Regions from separate parts of the Homo sapiens genome. Here region 2 is linked to region 1. The links are contacts of gene promoters, found by promoter capture Hi-C in human tissues and cell types (Jung and others, 2019). All regions are on one chromosome and are shown on one strand. The core of a region is centred on a gene start or on the middle of the fragment in contact, and the rest is flanking DNA. Distances in the headings are between cores, read along the strand shown. Region 1 holds the start of MLLT1 (MLLT1 super elongation complex subunit). Region 2 overlaps RFX2 (regulatory factor X2).

Evidence for each region. The method cuts DNA at HindIII sites, captures the fragments that hold promoters and counts their contacts. A contact is called where the count stands out against the background at its distance.
Region 2: a contact is called between a fragment that was not itself captured here and the fragment with the promoter of MLLT1 in region 1, in 1 of the 25 tissues and cell types used here (IMR-90 fibroblasts).

Annotation. Positions count from the first base shown.
Region 1 is chr19:6,277,938-6,281,439 of GRCh38, forward strand. MLLT1 (MLLT1 super elongation complex subunit) reads right to left here and starts at 2,038. Exons shown (of 12, transcript NM_005934.4): 1 at 1,836-2,038. The coding sequence starts at 1,847. RefSeq lists an enhancer at 1,126-1,205 and a silencer at 2,006-2,435. The HindIII fragment of the contact is 7,192 bases long and covers 245-3,502 here.
Region 2 is chr19:6,074,645-6,078,520 of GRCh38, forward strand. All of the region lies in intron 1 of RFX2 (regulatory factor X2), which reads right to left. RFX2-AS1 (RFX2 antisense RNA 1) reads left to right here. Exons shown (of 2, transcript NR_199041.1): 2 at 2,376-2,480. Among named protein-coding and RNA genes, the nearest start is that of RFX2-AS1, 14 kb to the left of the region's middle. RefSeq lists an enhancer at 1-516. The HindIII fragment of the contact is 7,886 bases long and covers 1-3,876 here.

The DNA of each region.
Region 1 (3,502 bases), core at 788-3,287:
TCTTCCTTACCTCTTAAGAAGAAGGCAGCAACACCCAAACCAGATGGGAAGCCATGGGAACTGGGTGCCAGAAGCATGAGACACCTGTCTCCATGACCCTGTGCCACAGGCGCCGAGATGGGCAGGAGGGAGGATTCTTGCCCCCCACCCATGAAACCACACAGACAGTGCCACTTCAGTGGCGCCAGCAGCCAGGGACGCCCCAACCTGCCCTCTCTAACGGCGGAGATTTTGGCTGCCACCCCCACAGCCCCACAACACCTTTCCTGGCCTGGTGCCCCTGAAAGCCAGGGCAGCAGAGGAGGAGGAAGAAATGATCCCATGTTGGGGGCCAGCAATGCTTCTGGGCTTGAGGAAGAGGGGTAGGGGCTTGGGTATTGGAGAAGAGGCAGCGCAGAGTTGGGTAAAGGGGGTGCCAGGGTGCAGGAAGGCCTCGTGTTTATGAGAACCAACACAGACCAATGGGGAGGGGCCGTCCAGAGCGTTTAGGGAGGTTGGGGAACCCACCCACCCACCCTGGGTTTCAACTGAGGCTCTAAGATCCTGGGGGAAAAAAACAGAAAATGAGGTGGAAGGAGGGAGAGGGTAGTGGCTGAAAGAGACATCAGGACTCATCAGGCTGATGGGCGTTAGATGAAGTGGGAGATCCTGAAGGCAAAGGTTGTACAGGAGACTGCAGGACTGTGACGTGACCAACCAGCCTGGGAGGGAGATCTGGACTGGGGTCAAGTGTGGGGAAGCCTAAATCAGGATCCCAGGGGCGGAGAGGGCCCAAGCTGAGGGGAACAGCAGGCCATCAGTGACTCAAAGGTCTGGGGAATCCAGGTCAGAGAAGAAACTGCTCCTGGTCCTGGTCTCAGAGCAGAGGGTCTGAAGGTGAAAGAGACAGCCCCGCCGGGTCCGAGGGAGAGTGACCAGGGCCTGAAACTAGAAGGGGGCTGAGGCGGCAGGGTGGGTCAAAGAAAGAAGTCTGAAAAAGCAAGTACAAAGAGAGGGGACACTCCAAACAGGCCTGAGTCCCTGCAGCAGAAGACCGAAGGCCAGGGTCCTAGGGAGTCAGAGGAGCTCAGGCCAGGGCTGGGGTTGGGAGAGAAAGGGATGCCCTGGCTGCAGCCGGGGCAGGATCAGACGGGAGAGAAGGCTCAGGTCCAGGTAGGGGATGGGTGGAGATAAAGCTTAGGCTGGGCCGGGGTTCAAGGAAGAGAGACGCCGCAGAGCAGGGTCCCAGGGGGCCGGGGACGCCTCATATCTGAGCTGAGGTTGAAGGGAAGACAGACAGCAGGTTGGGGACTCTGGGAGTTTGAGGCGACTCGGGGACAAGGGTCCAGACAGGAAAGGAGACAGTGACTGGCCCTGGACCTAGAGACGGAAAGGTCTACTGGGCAGATCCGAGGGGCCCCGGGAGGGGTCTGAACAGGGCCCAGATCCCAGGAAGTGCCTGGAAGGAGCTCTGGGCCAGGCTGAAGTCCCGAGAGCTGTCTTGAGGTCCCTAAGCCGGGCTGGGGTCCCCAGGGGCGTCCCAGGTGGATGCAGGTCGGACTGGCGTTCCGAGGGGTCTCCCGGGGGTCTCCGAGCCAGGCTGGGGGGTCACCAGGGGCGTCCCAAGGGGCTCCGGGCCCGGCCCGGGTCCCGAAGGGTGTCCGAGGCGCCCTGGCCGGGGTCGCGGATGGGGGAGGGGCGCCCCCGCCCCACATAAAGGCCCGAGGAGCGGCGGGCGCGCACAAAGCGGGCGGGCGGGCGCGGAGCGGGGAGGCCGGGACCGGGGAGGGCCGGGCGGGCCGGCGGGCGGGAGGGGGCCGGGCGGGCTGCGCAGGGGCGGCGCGGCCGCTCCTCACCTGATTGTCCATGGCTGGCGCCCCGCCCCGCCCCCGGGCCCCGCGTCGCTCGCCGCCGCCGCCGCCGCCGCCGCCGCTCAACGCCGCCCCGCCGCCCTCATTGTCTGTCAAGCGCCGCCGCCGCCGCCGCCGCCGCCGATCCCGGCCGCCCGCTCGCCCGCCAGCCCCGCGGAACCGGAAACCACCGCCAGCCCGGGTCGCGCACCGATCACGGGCCCCCGCCGCCGACTAGGGCCCGCCGCATCGACTGACAGCCACCTGGGCCAATCGACGGCGCGGACGGCCGCTTGTGGCGCGGGACTTCCTGCCTGGCGGGGGCCTGCCGGGCTGCGGCCGGAGGGACGAAGCCCGCAGCCAATGGGAGGCCGGGACCGGAGGGGCGGGAGGAGGGAGGGAGGGAGGCGCGAGGCGAGCCTGGCGGAGGGGAGCGCGAGGTGTGCGCCGCACGTGGAGGGGGGCGGGGGCGGGACGGGCGCGCGGCGCCTGCGCGCTGCGGCCCGCAGGGGGCGCTGCCTCGTGGCTGGAGCCTCCAGGGCGGGAGCGTCCCGGGGGCTGGAACTGAGGTTACGGGTTCGAGCCCTGTGGAGGGATCCCCCAGCCCCCCCGGTAGGGACACTTTTGTTTCCTGACCTCATGATGCTGCTATGTAATGGAACGAGCCCTGGGCTCTGGAACTGGAGATTAATTTTCTTTTCTTTTTTTTTTTTATGAGACACGTCTCGCTCTGTGGCCTAGGCTAGAGTGTACTAGCACGATCTCAGCTCACTGCAACCTCCACCTCCCAGGTTCAAGAGATTCTACTGCCTCAGCCTCCCGAGTAGCTGGGATTACAGGAGCTCGCCATTATGCCCAGCTAATTTTTGTATTTTTAGTAGAGACGGGGTTTTGCCATGTTGGCCAGGCTGGTCTCGAACTCCTGACCTCAAGTGATCCGCCTGCCTCAACCTCCCAAAGTGGAGATTAATTTTCTAATCTTGCATAATCCTTGGCAAACCTGGTCAGCCCCTTCTTCACCTTTCCCTGAGTCTCAGTTTGTGCATCTGTGAAATAGGTTGAAGAACAGTACTGTGTGATTCTTCATGCTAATTTGAATGATACAAATTTGAAATCGTGCTACATTCAAATGACCCAAGAGAGTCACATGTTTTCAGTTAGACACGAAGAATAAGTTCTGGCGATCCATCACACAGCAAGGTGACTACATAATAATGTAATTTTATATTTTAAAATTGCTAAAAGCGGCCAGATGCGGTGGCTCACGCCTGTAATCCCAACACTTTGGGAGGCTGAGGGGGGCGGATCACCTGAGGTCAGAAGTTCAAGACCAGCCTGGCCAACATGGTGAAATCCCATCTCTACTAAAAAAATACAAAAATTAGCCGGGCGTGGTGGTGTGTGCCTGTAATTCTAGCTACTCAGGAGGCTGAGGCAGGAGAATCGCCTGAACCAGGGAGGCAGAGGTTGCAGTGAGATGAGATCATGCCACTGCACTCCAGCCTGAGTGACAGAGCAAGACTCTGTCTCAAAAAAGAGAAAAAAAAGAAAAAAAATGCTAAAAGTGGATTTTGAATGTTCTCACCATAAATAATTGATAAGTATATGTGGTGATGGATATGTCAATTAGCCTGATTTGTTTATTCCATAATGTATACATGTACCAAAGCATC
Region 2 (3,876 bases), core at 807-3,306, 200 kb before region 1:
GGAGGTGACAAATGCTCTGAAGAAAAATACACTCAAATGCACAAGTGGAGTGCGGCATGGGCCAGGGGCAACAAGGTGACCTGGGGCAGTGACAGGACAGAGGCAGAGTGAGGTGAGGAAAGTGTCGCCGCTGAGAAGGCTCTGCCAGGGATGGTGCTCGGCAAGGCTGAGGCACACGGGACATGTGGGGTCACACGGGTCACGTGAGGAGGCCACCAGAGGGAGCTGGGGGAATGCTGGGGGTTGAATGTTGTGTCCCCTTAAATTCCTATGCTGAACTCCTCACCCCAAGGCAGTAGCTTTAGGAGGTGGGGCCTTTGGGAGGTGATTAGGTCATGAGGGTGGGATCATGCCCTCCCTTATGGAAGGGACCCCAGAGAGCTCTCTCTGGCTTCCCACCATGTGATGTGAGGACACAGCAAGAAGACAGCCATCTGCATCCCAGAGGGAAGCCCTCACCAGAACCTGACCCTGCTGGCACCCTCTTCTCAGACTTCCCACCTCCAGGGCTGAGAGATGTGTGTCTGTTGTTTACAGCCACCCAGTCTATGGCCTTTTGCTGAAACAGCCCAAACAGATTAAGACAGGAGGAGAAGGAGGAAGAGGAGAAAGAAGAGGAGGAGAAGGTGGAGGAGGAGGAGGAGGAGGAGGAGAAGATGGACTTAGAGACACAAGGAGGCCACAGTGGAGTGTTTGGCTTTCGCTCTGAGTGTGCTGGGAAGCTACTGGAAGGTTTAGGGCACAGGGACACAATCTGACAGATATTTTGGAAGTATCAACGGTCAATGGAAGCAAACGTCAGGGCTGGACAACCAGGTCAGAGGTGACAAAGACTTACGTGATAGCAGTGCTCTCATTTGGGAGACACCTGAAGACAGAGCCAGCCAGGTTTGCTGACGGGTTTGACATAAAGGGTGAAAGAAAGAGAGGAGTCGAGGCTGACTTAAGGCTTGGGGCTGGCCTGAGCACCTAGAGAATGGAGCTGCCCGGTGCTGAGCTGGGGAAGCCCGTGGTCTGGGGAGAGACAAGTGTGAGGTCGAATCAGGCACCCAGTTTTGGGTGACAGAAGCCTCAGATGCCCATCAGATGACACCCACATGCAGCTGCCACCTAGGCAGCTAGGTACACAAGTCCAGGATTCGGGGAGTGAGCCAGGCTGCAGACACTAGGACACTGGAGGTTCTAAGATGCATTTCAACTCTTGTACCTCGGTGAGATCACCAGGAAAGCAGGTGTAGATAAAGCAGAAAAGAGGTCCCTTCTCAAGTTCAAAGGTCATGAACAGTTGGAGGATCTGGCATAGGGGACAGAGGAGAGGAAGAAAGCAGAGGGAATATCGAGCTCTGAAATACACAGCGTCACCCCTTTACTTGGCTTTCGGAGCTTGGTGTTCACAAAAAATTAGAAACGAGGTTGGGGGCGGTGGCTCATGCCTGTAATCCCAGCACATTTTGGGAGGCCAAGGTGGGCAGATCACTTGAGGTCATGAGTTCGAGAGCAGCCTGGCCAACATGGCGAAACCCCATCTCTACTAAAAAATAATACAAAAATTAGCCATGCGTGGTGGTGCATGCCTGTAATCCCAGCTACTTGGGAGGCTGAGGCAGGAGAATCGCCTGAACCCGGGAGGCTGAGGTTGCAGTGAGCCGAGATGGTGCCACTGTACTCCAGCCTGGGTGACAGAGAGAGACTCTGTCTCAAAATAAATAAATACATAAATAAGAAACAAACGTTCATCAACTGGAATACCATTAACTACCTTACGGTGCATCCTAGCTCTAAAACAGGAGGCTAGGCGAGGGTGCCTGGGTCCGGTGCCTGGGTCCAGTTCCTGGGTCCTCCAGTTTCTAGCTGGGTGACCTCAGCCAGGGACTTAAATCTTTCTGCACTTCCATTTCTTTGTCCATAAACGGAGAAAATACTTCTATCTGTGTTGGGTGGTTGTGTTAAATGAGAGGAGTCCTACAAAGTGTGGAGTTTAATGGCCAGCCCAGCACACGGAAAATGCCCATAAATGTTCATTAGCGTCATCGTTGTAATTCACACCATTATAACGTAACCCACATAATTTACTGATTTTTTGCAGATTTAAATATCTGAAACTAAAAGCAGTTATGCTGTTTGCTATTTGTGATTTCAAAAACTCTTCGCTATTTGTGATGTTGCTAAGCCCTTTAGGGAGTGCCTCCTGCTATGAGCTATATTCATTCCAGGGCATATTTGTGGGGTTTGTCATTTTAACCAAGTACTTAATACTTGTTTCTCTCCCAGCATCTTGCCAAATGTGGCAGCTCTCCTTCTAGATGAACACTACTGCATTACTGTTATAGAAATGATATTTTAACATCAACTCCCTTTTCCCTTTTCTTCCCTAGAAATCCAGTCCTTCCATGAGACCTCGGTACACACAGAACTCCTCCTACCACGTGCAACCTTATTCTCGGCTGAGCAACTCATAAATCGCATAACAAAAACAGTGATTGATGCGGACTGTGTTTAGTGCCATCCTTGCCGGTGAGAGGGAGTGAGCCAGCAAGCTTCCTTAAATCTCTTTAGTTCTCCAAAAGGAGAGGCCATTTGCCTTCTCATCTATGCCGCAAGTTTCTGGGGCTTGCATCATTAACCTGGTGGCTTTGCCAATTCCTTCGCCAGTGCTGGGTCAAAGACAGGCAAGGGCACCAGGGTTAGCCATGAGTGTGTGCCAGGGGCTGAATGCAAAACCCGGGAGCACTGGTGGCTGGGGCAGGTGGGCTGGGCTCTGCCACTGCCTCCCCCAGCCCACCCAAGAGGGGCGTGTGCCTCTGCAGGAAATGGCCTCCAAGCATTTCTCAAGACTTACGAGATGTTCAAACCTACACAGTCAGAGACAAAGAGCTAGCTATAAGTGGGGTCTTTTTCCCCTCCTCAAAATTCATCCTGCAGAAGTAGACATGTGCTAAACAGTGCATGGCCACACAAATGCTTGGATACCAATGTTCACAGCAGCGTTGTCCTAATGGCCCCAAAGTAGCAACAGCCCAAATGTTTGTCAACTGATGGATGGATAAACGAAGGCGGCCGGGCGCGGTGGCTCACACCTGTAATCCCAGCACTTTGGGAGGCTGAGGCGGGTGGATCACCTGAGGTCAGGAGTTTGAGACCAGCCTGACCAACATGGAGAAACCCTGTCTCTATTAAAATACAAAATTAGCCGGGCGTGGTGGCACATGCCTGTAATCCCAGCTACTTGGGAGGCTGAGGCAGGAGAATCGCTTGAACCCGGGAGGCGGAGGTTGCAGTGAGCCAAGATCGCGCCATTGCACTCCAGCCTGGGCAACAAGAGCAAAATTCCATCTCAAAAAAAAAAAAAAAAAAAAGGAACGAGGCACTGGCACATGCTGTAAACGGATGGACAGTGGACCCTGAAAACATTATGTTACGTGGAAGAAGCCAGTCACAAAAGGCCACATAGTGTGTGATTCTGTTTATATGAAAGGTTCAAAACAGGCAAATCCACAGAGACAGAAAGTGGATTCACAGTTGCCCGGGGCTGGGAGGAGGAAGGGCAAGTGGCTGTTCATGGCAGGTTCAGGGTTTCTTCTTCTTTTCGGAGTGATGAAAATGTTCTGTGAAGATAGTATACTAAGACCCACTGAACCATACACTTCAAATGGGTGAGCTTTACGGTATGTAAAACAGATCTCAGCACAGCTGTAAAAAAAAAAAAAAAAAAGGTATATTGACGACCTGTCCCCAGTGGCATTAGTTTAAGTCATAAAAATTTAGAAACAAATGTTCATCAACAGGAAAATCATTAAGTACCTTATGGTGCATCCTAGCTCTAAAACTATGCTGCCATTAAAAAGAAGAGGTACCGTCTCCAAGAAAGAAAGCCAA